Regions from separate parts of the Homo sapiens genome. Here all the other regions are linked to region 3. Evidence: promoter capture Hi-C in 16 types of primary human blood cells and fetal thymus (Javierre and others, 2016). All regions are on one chromosome and are shown on one strand. The core of a region is centred on a gene start or on the middle of the fragment in contact, and the rest is flanking DNA. Distances in the headings are between cores, read along the strand shown.

Region 1 (4,605 bases), core at 1,357-3,856, 100 kb after region 3:
CTCGCTGAACTTGTCAGTTTTCATTTAAAAGATTTTTTCCTCTCTCCCCAGAAAAGCACTTGGTTCTGCTTCGAGATGGAAGGACACTTATAGGCTTTTTAAGAAGCATTGATCAATTTGGTATGTATTAATTTATGGACATCTCTTATACTCTGGATAATAACAGCAGCCCATTGCATTTTTTGTTATTTAATATTGAAATTTATCTGCAACTTTTTCACGTGTGTGACCTAGTAGGACTGATTTTAGTGAGTACATCATTGTTTTCTATACATTCAGATTAGGTGGTTCAAAGCTTATATATATTTCCAAGCTCGTTTCTAAAACTGGCTTTCAGTAGAATCCCCAGTAGGGGGAGCCAAATGATAGAAATAAACTCAGTCCACCGAAGAGGCTTGTTTTGTTTTGTTTTGTTTTTTGTTTAGACGCGCTCTCGGTCACCCAGGCTGGAGTGCAGTGGCACAATCTTGGCTCACTGCAACCTCCGCCTCTTGGGTTCAAGTGATTCTTGTGCCTCAGCCTCCCAAGTAGCTGAGATTATAGGCTCCAGCCACCACCCCCAGCTAATTTTTGTATTTTTAGTAGAGACGGGGTTTCGCCATGTTGGCCAGGCTGGTTTCAAACTCCTGACCTTAGGTGATCCACCCACCCAGCTGAGCTGGGCAGTTGTTCTGCTCCTCATGGTTTTAGGACAGTCCCTTGGTGTCTAGAAGGTGAGTCAGCTGGTTTGAAGGAGCTTCACTCACATGTCTGGTGCATCAGTGGGGACAGCTGGAAGGCTGGTCTTAGCTCCCATAGTGCTGAGATTATAGGCGCGAGCCATTGTGCCCGGCCCAAGGCTGCTTATTTCTACATTGGCAGGGTAAAATGACTTCAAAGCAGTTCCGGAAGTGAAGGTAATCCCTCCCTAGCCAATGAAAATTGGGTAGAAGGCATTTCCTTTATTTTAAGGACCCCAACATTAAGCTTAATACTTTACATATAGGGATACATTGGAATAAGAGGCCTCTGTCTTTGTTTCGCATCCTGCATTTTTCTTAAGTTAAAAGATTATGTTTCCTTCTGTTTCAAGGAACTTCATGTTCATGCTAACATTTATTGGATATCTGCGAAATCACTGGATTTGAGCATGAGGAAGAAACGTAATTAAAACACTTAAAAGGATTATGGAAGATATGAACATAGATTTCTCCTTTACTTCAAATAGGACAAGTAGTACTAATTGAAAGAGGAAAAATAATTATTGTTAACAAATTGGAGTCCTGATTCTTAAGTCAGATTCATCAGAGTACTTTGAGGGAAGGGTAGTGGCTATTAAGTTGACTTTTAGATTACAAATATAGTTATCTGTCAAGGTGAAAAAATAGGTTTTTGCTGTATCATAACCCATGGATACCTGCGTTGGGTCAAATGAATCCTAATTACTAAAAGAAAGTTGAATCTTCAGCAGATCATCACATACACACCCACACAAAAAGAAAAGCTGTTTCTTTCCAGAAAACAAAAGTTTTGATCTCTGTGGTTGTTTAGGCCCAAGTTTTCCAAGTTCCTTATTCATTTATATTTTCCTATGGTTTTTTTTGGTATTAGCAATTAACTGATAAAGGAATTTATTTCTCTTATTTCTGCTGTCATTCATGTATTAGCCCAACATAATCCCAGACATCTCCTAACTGGTACGTCTTACTCAATGAAATAGGAGAAGATTATTTGAAATTTTAGCCTTCCCCAGAATTAGAAAGCTTGGGGGCCCGGCACTGTGGCTCACGCCTGTAATCCCAGCACTTTGGAAGGCCGAGGTGGGCGGATCACAAGGCCAGGAGTTCAAGACCAGCCTGGCCAATGTGGTGATCCCTGTCTCTGCTAAAAATACAGAATTAGCCGGGAGTGGTGGCAGGCACCTGTAGTCCCAGCTACTCCGGAATCTGAGGCAGGAGAATTGCTTGAACCAGTAGGCAGAGGTTGCAGTGAGCTGAGATGGCGCCACTGCAGTCCAGCCTGGGTGACAGAGCGAGACTCGGTCTCAAAAAATAAATAAATAAAAATAATTAGAAAGCTTGGAAATCATGTTTACCTAAATCTTTTCAAAATAACTGATTATTGAGTTATGGGCCTTTACCCAGTAGTTTAAACTAAATATCTTTGGTTTTTCCCTATACACTTACAGCAAACTTAGTGCTACATCAGACTGTGGAGCGTATTCATGTGGGCAAAAAATACGGTGATATTCCTCGAGGGATTTTTGTGGTCAGAGGAGAAAATGTGGTCCTACTAGGAGAAATAGTAAGTGAAAACTATTAAGCTGCTGTAGATCTTCATATTCATGCTAGTTAGACTTCTTTTTTTGTCTTTTCAAAAGAGAATAAAAATATTCTCCACATTTATCTGGCTTCTCCTAGGCAACTACCAAATTAATTTAGGGAAGCTACAGAGAATACTTTGTTTCAGTGCCTTAACAAATGTGTTCATTAATATATTTGTTTAATAGCAGAAAATTGACAAAGCTTGATTTATATATGCTGGGGAAGGTGTGTCTTACATACGTTGGAATATTTTGCAGTCATTTAAACAATTGGTTACAAGTGGTTTTTCATGGCATAAAGCTAATGCACAGTATTTCAGGGAAGTACATATTGCCTGTACAGTACAATGTGATATCCATATTAGTAAAGGGGGAAAGGGAAAGAGTAGCTATAGGAAAAGCTTTTCCGTTACCTATCCCGAGAATGGAGTTCAGTCTTACTTGGATCCTTAGCTCACAGCCAGGGAGAGGGTATTTTGGTATCTGTGCCAGAAAGACCAGCTGGCAGGTGAAAGGTTAAATCAGATTTTCTGAGGTATTGTTGCTGTAGGTCTTCGTGTGTGCAGACATACACACACACACCCCTACTAGAAGTACTCAGATTTTTTTTTAAAGTATCTTATTTAAAACCTTTGATTTCATCTTGTTATTTCTGATTATTGGGTTTGCAAGGAAAATAAAAATCTCTTCAAGAGTAGTTGAAATTAAGGGTTGAGCCAGCACTGTCTTCTTTTTTCTTACCAAAAACTTTGGTGTTTGCTTAATTTTTAAAGTTTTTAATACTGTTTTCTAAATACCTAGCCATGTCTTAAATCAGTTTGCAGAAATCTTTAGAGTGGTTTGGTTTGTAGCCATTTTTAACAGCCATTTGAGAAAGCAAGGAGATAATTCTGCTAGGGTTGGGTTGGTTCAGAGACCTCATATTGGAAATAGCTAGAAATGACTAATCCAGACTATCAATACTGCCCAAGTGAAATATATGAAGTATATGAAATATATGAATATATGAAATATATGCTGTGAAATATATGAAATAGCTTTTTCTTACTTATAAAATATTTATAAGTAATACTTATAAAAATTTTTCTTATAAAATATTTTTGTAGTTTGTACTTTTAGTTCAGTGTATCATTTCTTGCATGTTTAAGCAGCAGAAATTGTTTTTTGTTTTTTGGGTTTTTTTTTTTTTTTGGGACAGAGTTTTGCTCCTGTTGCCCAGGCTGGAGTGCAATGGCATGATCTCAGCTCACTGCAACTTCCGCCTCCCAGGTTCAAGTGATTCTCCTGCCTCAGCCTCCCGAGTAGCTGGGATTACAGGTGCCCGCAACCAAGCCCAGCTAATTTTTGTATTTTTAGTAGAGACGGGGTTTCACTATGTTGGCCAGGCTGGTCTCGAACTCCTGACCTCAGGCGATCTACCCGCCTCGGCCTCCCAGTGTGCTGGGATTACAGGCATGAGCCACCGCGCCCAGCCAAGCAGCAGAAATTGTTATCTTCTTGTGTCGCATAAAGGCTGAAACAAGGCCAGGTGCGGTGCCTCACGCCTGTAATCCCAGCACTTCGGGAGGCTGAGGCGGGCGGATCACAAGGTCAGGAGATCGAGACCATCCTGGCTAACACAGTGAAACCCCATCCCTATTAAAATACAAAAAAGTTAGCCGGGTGTGGTGGCGGGCGCCTGTAGTCCCAGCTACTTGGGAGGCTGAGGTAGGAGAATGGCATGAACCCAGGAGGCGGAGCTTGCAGTGAGTCGAGATCGTGCCAGTGCACTCCAGCCTGGGCGACAGAGCAAGATTCCGTCTCAAAAAAAAAAAAAAGTCTGAAAGCACCTAGTACCATGGTACCCATGGGGAGACACTACATGACTGTAAAGTAGTCTGCCAGTATTTTTTTTCTTCCAGAGATGGGGTCTCACTATGTTGCCCAGGCTAGATTCAAACTCCTAGGCTTAGGCAATCCTCCTGTCTCAGCCTCCCAAGTAGCCGGGACTATAGGTACATGCCACTGTGCTTGATACTGCCAGTATATAGGGGAGCTGACCCATCTCTGCATGGTGGGGTTATAGATGATTTTTAAAAATACTTTTCTGAATTTAATTTTGAAGAGGCAACGTATCAGAGGAAAAAACTTAAGTTAAAATACTGGGGTGGGTGCAGTGGCTCACGTCTGTAATCCCAGTACTTTGGGAGGCCGAGGCAGGCAGATCGCTTAAGCTGCAAGAGACCAGCCTGGGCAACATGGCCAAACCCTGTCTTTACAAAAAAATACAAAAATTAGCCAGGGGTGATGGTGCACATCACCAG
Region 2 (4,149 bases), core at 1,425-3,924, 67 kb after region 3:
AAATCCCAGCGTTTTGGGAAGCCAAGGTGGGAGGATTGCTTGAGCCCAGGAGTCTGAGAACAGCCTGTGCAAACAGCAAGACCTCATCTCTACAAAAAAAAAAAAAAAAAAAAAAAAAAAAATTAATTAGCTGGGCGTGGTATGGCACAGCTATAGTCCTTAGCTACACAGGAGGCTGAGGCAGGAGGATCGTTTGAGCCTAGGAGTTCAATGTTACAGTGAGCTATAATCAAGCCACTGTTCTCTAGCCTGGGTGACAGTAAGACCCTGTCTTCAACTAGCTAACTAACTAAATAAATATTTTACTGTTAGAACTGACCAGATATTTAATGATATGAAATAATTATTTTTAAGGTTGTTTTTTTCCTTTTAAGTTTTAATTTTTAATTAAAAATGTTTAAAAACATTGTGGTTATGTTTTTAAAACTTCCTTATATTTTAAAGAAACATACTTAGGTATTTATAAGTGATAAAATGATATCTGAAATTGCTTCAAAATACTCCAAGGAAATACTCCAAGAATAAATACACGACGGCCATGTACTGATAACCCATTGAAACCAATAGATGGGTTCATGTTACTTTAGTGTGTGATTCTCATTGCTTTTATGTGGCTTTTGTTGTTTATTTTTTTTCTTTTTCCCTTCTCACAGGCGTTGTTTTTGTTTTTTTTTTCGTTGTTGTTGTTTTTCTTTAAATAGAAATGAGGTCACGCTATGTTGCCAGGCTAGTCTCAAACTTTTAGGCTGAAGTGATCCTGGCACCTCAGCCTCCCAAAGTGCTGGGATTATACCATGCCTGGCCATTACTTTTTTTCTCCCCAAGACACCCAGGGTAGAATGCAGTGGCACAATCACGGCTCACTGCAGCCTCAAACTCCGGGCTCAAGCAATCCTCCCACCTTAGCATCCTAAGTAACTGGGACCACAGGCATGCACCACCATGCCTGGCTAATTTTTGTATTTTTTGTAGAGACAGGGTTTGGCCATGTTGCCCAGGCTGATCTCGAACTCCTGGGCTCAAGCAATCCACTCGCCTCAGCTTCCCAAAGTGCTGGGATTACAGGTGTGAGCCACCACATCTGGCCAGCCATTACTTTTGATGCTTGAAAATTTCCTTGATTCCTGGAATTACTTCCTGGTTTTGAGATGCCTTCATGAGTTCATTGCTTCTTTTCCCAAATAACCACTGTCCTGACAGATCACAAAGCTGTCACATGCATGTTTACAAAAGAACACAGAATCAGATTATATAACAGCCTTGCAGTTGCTAAAGATGTTTGTTAAGGATGAGCTAAAGATCCTATTTCAGAAACGTGGCAAAGTTTTTAAGTCTTTGTCTGAAAAGCAGCTTGTGTGAAAGTTGCCAATGCCAAGATGGAGTCACTTACATCAGACCCAAAATGGAGGGGGAGGTCACGAAGGAGGGGATCTCATGCACACATGTCTGCGATAAGTATTATCACAAGGACTTTTTTTTTTTTTTTTTTTGAGACAGGGTCTCACTCTGTCACCCAGGCTAGAGTACAGTGGCACCATCATAGCTCACTGCAGCCTAGATCTCCCAGGCTCAAGTTATCCTCCTGCCTCAGCCTCCCAAGTAGCTTGGACTACAGGTATGAGCCACTGCACCCAGCCTATATCACAGGGCTTTCTAAAAACTCACAAAAAATCCCTGTAGGCCCTACTCATCTTGCTTGTCCTACATATGTCTGTAACAGGACTTATCACAAAAAATTCCTCAACCAGGCACGGTGGCTCACACCTGTAATCTGAGCACTTTGGGAGGCCAAGGTGGGCGGATCACGAGGTCAGGAGATCGAGACCATCCTGGCTAACACGGTGAAACCCTGTCTCTACTAAAAATACAAAAAAATTAGCTGGGCGTGGTGGCAGGCGACTGTAGTCCCAGCTACTCAGGAGGCTGAGGCAGGAGAATGGCGTGAACTCGGGAGGCGGAGCTTGCAGTGAGCCAAGATCGTGCCATGGCACTCCAGCCTGGGCGACAGAGTGAAACTCTGTCCAAAAAAAGAAAAAAAAAAAATTCCTCAAGACTGCAGTTTCACATAAGCCATCTTCATAAGAACACTCGCTTAGCAATGAGTTTCCAGTAACATCAGCTCCTACAACAGGCCCCTGTGACCAATGATGTTTGTCTCAAAACAGCTTATATGGACTTCTCCTCTTTCCCTTTAAAAGTTTCCCCTTACTACAACTTCTCCAGATATGTAGGGGATGATTATCTATGGTATGCGCATCTGAAATTGTAATTCTCTGTTTATTTCCAAACAGATTCATTTCTTTGAAGAGTCCTTCTCTCTGTTGTTATTTTAGGTTGACACTTGGAGCACAGCAAAGAAAATACAGGAGTTCCTTGCACCATTTAGAGTCATAAGACGGAATCCAAAAAGGAAGAAAATGCTTCTAGGACTTCAGAACAGATTTCTGTTACATATTAAAGTATGTCATAAAAATGAAGGACTTGGCCAGGCGTGGTAGCTCATTCTTGTAATTCTAGCACTTTGGGAGACCAAGGCAGGTGGATCGCTTGAGGTCAGGAGTTCCAGACCAGCCTGGGCAACAAAGTGAGACCCCATCTCTACAAAAAATACAAAAATTAGCCAGGTGTAGTGGCGTATGCCTAAGGTCCCAGCCACTCAAGCAGTTAAGGTGGGAGGATCACCTGAGCCAGAGGAGATTGAGGCTGCAGTGAGCTGTGATCATGCCATTGCACTCCAGCCTGAGAAACAGAAAAAAAAAAAAAAAGGGGGCCGAGCACAGTGGCTCATGCCTGTAATCCTAGCACTTTGGAAGGCCAAGGCAGGTGGACTGCTTAAACTCAAAGAGTTTAAGATAAGCGGGGGCAACCCCCTCTCTACAAAAAATACAAAAATTAGCTGGGAATGGTGGCATGTGCCTGTAGTCCCAGCTACTCAGGAGGCTGCAGTGGGAGGATCGCTTGAGCCCAGGAGGTGGAGGTTGCAGTAAGCCAATATCATACCACTGTACTCCAGCCTGGGTGACAGAGGGAGACCTGGTCTCAAAAAAAGAAAGAAAAGAAAAGGAAAAAGAAGGACTTAAGAACAAAGCAGAAGCAACTCAACCGAGTTTGAATAATACTGAGAAAACCTCACGAACTTTATTAACAGTTGGGTGAGACAATATCTTCTGCTTCCAGAGATACAGCCTGAGATTGTGAACTTCCGTGCTGTTCACACCCTACTCCATGAATCGCCCTCCATGCTCCTCTCAAGAGTCCACACTATTAGTTAAAGAATGAAGTTCTGAAAAATGAGGAAGGCTTTAGTTCAAATGCTGCCCTAATACTTGCATAGCACATAAACTGCACCTGGCACATGGCAGGCTAATCAACTTGGAAGATTGGTCAGACACCTTAGCAACATTAACAGCTTCTTAAAAAAAAAAAAAAAAAAAAAAAAAAAAATATATATATATATATATATATATATATATATATATATATATATATAAATTCCACACTCAGAATAAATGCATGAAATTACATATTCTTGGCTTATTATAGCTACTTTTGAATGAGAATTTTTAAGATTTATAAAACCAACCAAACAGAAGAATGACCATGTGGCAAGGCTAACCCAAGGAGGTAGCCGGAAGGTAAAGACATGATACTGCTTAATTTTTTAAAAAGGAAACCAGTCATATCTATATACCACTATAGGAGTCTATCTTGGATAGAAGCTAGACCAAGTGCAATGGCTCACGCCTGTAATCCCAACACTTTGGGATGCTGAGGTAGAAGGATCACCTGAGCCCAGGAGTTCAAGACCAGCCTAGGCAACATAATGAGACCCCATCTCTGCAAAATATTTAAAAATTAAACCAGGTGTGGTTGCACGCACCTGTACCTAGGACACTGAGACAGGAGGATCACTTAAGTCCAGGAGTTCAAGGTTACAGTGATCTATGATTATGCCACTACAATGAACTGGGTGGTAGAGCAAGACTATCTATCTCAAGAAACAAACAAAAAAAAGATGATGATAAATGTATAATCCCCATGTGATGTTTCGCCAGAAAATACACATGTGCTCACCTCAAAAAGGTGTATGTCTAGACACCTTTGGGTTATTTTAAATCCAACAACTTGTATGTTGTATCTAAAAACATT
Region 3 (4,452 bases), core at 29-2,528:
TATTGCCACTAATAATCAAGATGCTAAATGAGTATTACAACTGGCTAATATCATTTTTTATATACAAGGGTATGTGTATATTTGGAATTGATATGAGAAACTCATTTGTACCCATTTGAGTGATATTGCACAACAAACACAGATACCTACAGACTCCGTTTTCATTTTCTCGTGTTCTTTATGATAATGATCTTTGTAGATTGGTTATTTCTGTACTTTATCTGTAATAAACTTTGTAGATCCTGTGAACCATTACTTTGCCTAAATCACTTGAGACTTGAGTCTTTAATAACAAAGCATCAATATTCACTAAAGTCAATCTCTTTTGAGTTTCTGTGACTTGGCTAGAAGCTCTTGACACTAAGGGATTAGTGTTAATTTTCCCTGGGGGTGTTCCACTAGGGCATTACTGTATAATGACTTGATGTTGCCACATAGACTTCAAGATATATAATATTTTGAGGATTTTGTTGATTGGCCTATGTTTTATTGCATAGTGTGAAACGTGTAAAGCTTGGTTAACCTGTATATAGATAGCTTATTGTTGACTAGTTATAGTGTATTTAGGGTTGCCTGTAATATTTAAGCTTCTTTACTGATGTGTGTGCTGGTAGGAACATATAATTTTTGTACATTATATTTACTGAGATGTTGCCTTTTTTATTTTACAAATACTTTGGAATTCCAATGTGTTTTTTGCTTCCGTGAGGATTAATTTGGAAAGGTTTTTAATGACATTCCACTGATTTCAGATTTTGCTTGAGATTGACTTCAATAAATTGTCCTGTATGTTCCAAATTAAATATGTGGGCTTGTTCTTTGCCAATAATTTTTTGCTACAACACTCTGGGCAGGAGGCCATCCTGGGTGGGAGGACTAAATGACACAATCCAGCCAACCTCAGGTAGTGTAGCTTCCTGCAGAATGCGGCTGTGTTGCTAAGGAACGAGGATCTGAGAGCGGGCTGTTTGGTTTTCCATTTAGAGGCGAGGTCCCGGGAGAAGGCTGCTCCCCGCGGTGGTGTGGTTGGGCCGTGGAGACGAGCTGCTGATGATGGACCGTACGCCGACCTACTCGGCTGGAACTGGGGCGCTGGCTCCCTGCTGAACGCACCAGAGGGCAGCTCCGCTGGCTTTGCGTACCCTTTGCCAGACGATGCCCTCGGCACAGCCGCCAGGCCGTCTTCCTGGGGAGCCGCCGGAGCGCGGGCAACTGGGAGAGGGGGCGGTGCCCAGTTCCCGGCCCGGCCCTCCCCGCGGAGGTGGCCACGTCAGCGCAGCGTCGCTCGGAGCTCGCGGCCGGATGGGGAAGGCGGCGGCGGCGGTGGCCTTTGGGGCCGAAGTGGGCGTGCGGCTCGCGCTGTTCGCGGCCTTCCTGTAAGAAAGATCCACGGCCGGGCCCGGGCGGCCCCGCTTCCCAGGCAGGCGGGCGGCACGGGGCGGCGGGTCGGGCAGTGGGGAAGCGGGGAGGAAGCCAGGCGACCTGCTCTGCGCTTCTTTGTTCCCCTCTAGGGTGACGGAGCTGCTCCCCCCGTTCCAGAGACTCATCCAGCCGGAGGAGATGTGGCTCTACCGGAACCCCTACGTGGAGGCGGAGTATTTCCCCACCAAGCCGATGTTTGTGCGTGGAGAAAGATCGTCTTTCCTCCCTCCCCATGACCCGGCTTCCCGCGGGCACCTGTGCGTTTTCCACCCCGAGACGGCCTTTGTAGGGACCCACTGCCCACTCCGCTGCTGTGCGCTGGGTTCCGCCTCCTAGGGCTCGAGTGTTTAAGATCCTGATTGAGAGAGGAGGGTGTCCGAGCCTCTTTGGGCTGAGACAACGTTTTCCCGGGCGCTCTGTGCCTCAGCCTGAGGTACCGGGGCCCGAGCCGCACGGGCGCTGCTGTTCACTGGTGGCGCTGCCTGGCGCCCGGTTACGCGCACTCAGAGACCTTATGTTAGCTCCAGTGAGTCCTGCTGTGTCACATCCCTCTTTCCTGTAGGAGCACGAGTGTGGCTTTTTTTTGGATTGTTTTTAACCTCTGACATTCTGATTCAGGTTATTGCATTTCTCTCTCCACTGTCTCTGATCTTCCTGGCCAAATTTCTCAAGAAGGCAGACACAAGAGACAGCAGACAAGCCTGCCTGGGTGAGCGCTAGCCCTTTCGGGCCGGTTTCTTCGTGCTGGGAACCTAGGAGGTCGTTGTGGGATTCAGCCACGGTGAGCCTGTGTGGAGGCCACTGAGTTCTGCATTCCTAAAGGAACTCTATCCCCGCGGGAGAGGAAAATAGCACTGCAGGGACTTGGTTACGCAGGCTACACGGCAGGCAGCCCTGTGCCTAAATGCACTGGGTTATTTGTACCTCAGAAATGTCTTTGGCCTAGTACAAAAGTTCTCGGCTACAAAAGAGTGATCACTGAGGACCCTAATTATTTTTGTGCCCAGGCCTGGTTGGATTCTATCCATCTCAGAAACAGCACGGCTGCTCTCATAACGAGGCCATGACCATACCTTTCCTCCTAGACAGATCCTTTCAACTAATGGCTTTGCTTTGCAGCTGCCAGCCTTGCCCTGGCTCTGAATGGCGTCTTTACCAACACAATAAAACTGATCGTAGGGAGGTAAGTGACAACAGCTAACCACCCCAGCATCTGCCTCAGCCCTTACCCACCAGAACAGAGAGGTTAATGGTGTCCACCACACGTCTTTCTCATTCTTTTCTCCTTTATCTTCACTCTGATTTTTCTTTTGTCATTCAACGCTTACTCCCTTCCCCATACCTCAGTCCTCCAGGTGACACCTGGGCTCTTTTCTGCCTGAACAGCATTTCCCACCAACGGCCACAGCAGTCGGTCAGTGTCCTCTTGAGCACCTCCTGAAGCTGCAGTGTCATTTGCTGTTTGCCCTAAAAAGTAATCATGTGCTGGAATGGGCGTTTTTCCCCTAATTTAAATGCTCACCTTGAAAGGCTTTTCTCTTAGTGTGGTGACTATACTAAGCCAGTTACCTTATTTTGCCTGGGGCACTATTTGACCAATAGTTAACAGGATTATTAATGTCTGCTACAACTGAAAAATAATTTCTGGAGTTAATGATTTACGTTCCAACCATGCTGCTTTCTTCCAGGCCACGCCCAGATTTCTTCTACCGCTGCTTCCCTGATGGGCTAGCCCATTCTGACTTGATGTGTACAGGGGATAAGGACGTGGTGAATGAGGGCCGAAAGAGCTTCCCCAGTGGACATTCTTCCTGTATGAATATCATATGGACTCTACCCTATGCTTGTTTTCACATCATTGAATTTAACCTAGAAAGCTAGTAGGGATGGGAAAATCTGACTACTCTTGTTTCTACAATTTGGAAAATCCCCCCTTCTTTAGTAACTCCACAGTTTAACAAGTCTGAGCCTTGACTATTTGGGTAAATATTACAGAACAGAAAGGTAGTTTACCTTCATGAGATTTGCACATTTAATTGTTATATTATTTGCCTAGATCCTGCAATCTTGTACTAGCAATAAAAATACCTTTAACGAAGAGTTTCTATGTGTCAGGTACTTTGAAGCATTTTCATTTCTTACCTAATTATAGCTCACAATAATCCAATGAGGTGGGGACTATTGTATTTATGAGTCCCATTTATAGATGAGGAAACTAAAGCATCAACAAGTTGATACATATAGCTAGTATACCGAAAACTATACTCAGATAAAACATTAACTTTGGGGCACTAAGTCCTTCATTTTTCTTTTTGTTTCCCTTTCCTTCACAATGACTTACACTATAAGTATACACAAAAAAGGATTAAAACACCCTCATGGCCGGGTGTGGTGGCTCATACCTGTAATCCCAGCAATTGGGAGGCCAAGGCATGCAGGTCACTTGAGGCCAGGAGTTCAAGACCAGGCTAGCCAACATGGTGAAATCCCAACTCTACTAAAAATAAAAAAATTAGCTGGGCATGGTGGCACACACATGGAGTCCCAGCTACTCGGGAGGCTAAGGCAGGAGAATCGCTTGAACCCGGGTGGTGGAGGTTGCAGTGAGCCGAGATGGTGCCACTGCACTCCAGCCTGGGCGACAGAGCAAGACTGTCTCAAAAAATAAATAAATAAAAACATACTCATGCTTCCTAGCCTCCTATGTGGGGATGAATGAGGTAGCTTCCTTTAAAAGACAAACCACTTAAAAGTTTTTCTTGTTCCAGTTGCATTTGCTGGTCTGGCCTTTGCGTCCTTCTACCTGGCAGGGAAGTTACACTGCTTCACACCACAAGGCCGTGGGAAATCTTGGAGGTTCTGTGCCTTTCTGTCACCTCTACTTTTTGCAGCTGTGATTGCACTGTCCCGCACATGTGACTACAAGCATCACTGGCAAGGTAAGCAAAGTACTCAGGCTATGGAAGCTTGCATATTTCACTCATTTTATTCCTAGCACCTAGCACAGAGGAGATGCTTACTAAATATCTG

What was found. Contacts are between HindIII fragments. The CHiCAGO score rates a contact against its expected background, and 5 or more counts as called.
Region 1: a fragment that was not itself captured here is called in contact with the fragment with the promoter of PLPP5 in region 3 in 5 of 17 cell types (total CD4 T cells, total CD8 T cells, total B cells and 2 more); the score reaches 7.3 in total CD4 T cells.
Region 2: a contact is called between a fragment that was not itself captured here and the fragment with the promoter of PLPP5 in region 3, in 5 of 17 cell types (naive CD8 T cells, naive CD4 T cells, erythroblasts and 2 more). The highest score is 6.3, in naive CD8 T cells.

The regions. Positions count from the first base shown.
Region 1 is chr8:38,167,480-38,172,084 of GRCh38, reverse strand. LSM1 (LSM1 homolog, mRNA degradation associated) reads left to right here. Exons shown (of 4, transcript NM_014462.3): 2 at 52-120; 3 at 2,168-2,283. Among named protein-coding and RNA genes, the nearest start is that of LSM1, 6.7 kb to the left of the region's middle. The HindIII fragment of the contact is 199 bases long and covers 2,507-2,705 here.
Region 2 is chr8:38,201,176-38,205,324 of GRCh38, reverse strand. All of the region lies in intron 2 of BAG4 (BAG cochaperone 4), which reads right to left. Among named protein-coding and RNA genes, the nearest start is that of BAG4, 26 kb to the right of the region's middle. The HindIII fragment of the contact is 6,490 bases long and covers 1-4,149 here.
Region 3 is chr8:38,266,050-38,270,501 of GRCh38, reverse strand. It overlaps PLPP5 (phospholipid phosphatase 5), which reads left to right and starts at 1,278. Exons shown (of 7, transcript NM_001102559.2): 1 at 1,278-1,376; 2 at 1,512-1,620; 3 at 2,041-2,131; 4 at 2,542-2,605; 5 at 3,111-3,235; 6 at 4,191-4,361. The coding sequence starts at 1,303. NSD3 (nuclear receptor binding SET domain protein 3) reads left to right here. Exons shown (of 24, transcript NM_023034.2): 24 at 1-798. It also overlaps a transcript of DDHD2 not described here. RefSeq lists a silencer at 1,080-1,559. The HindIII fragment of the contact is 3,801 bases long and covers 590-4,390 here.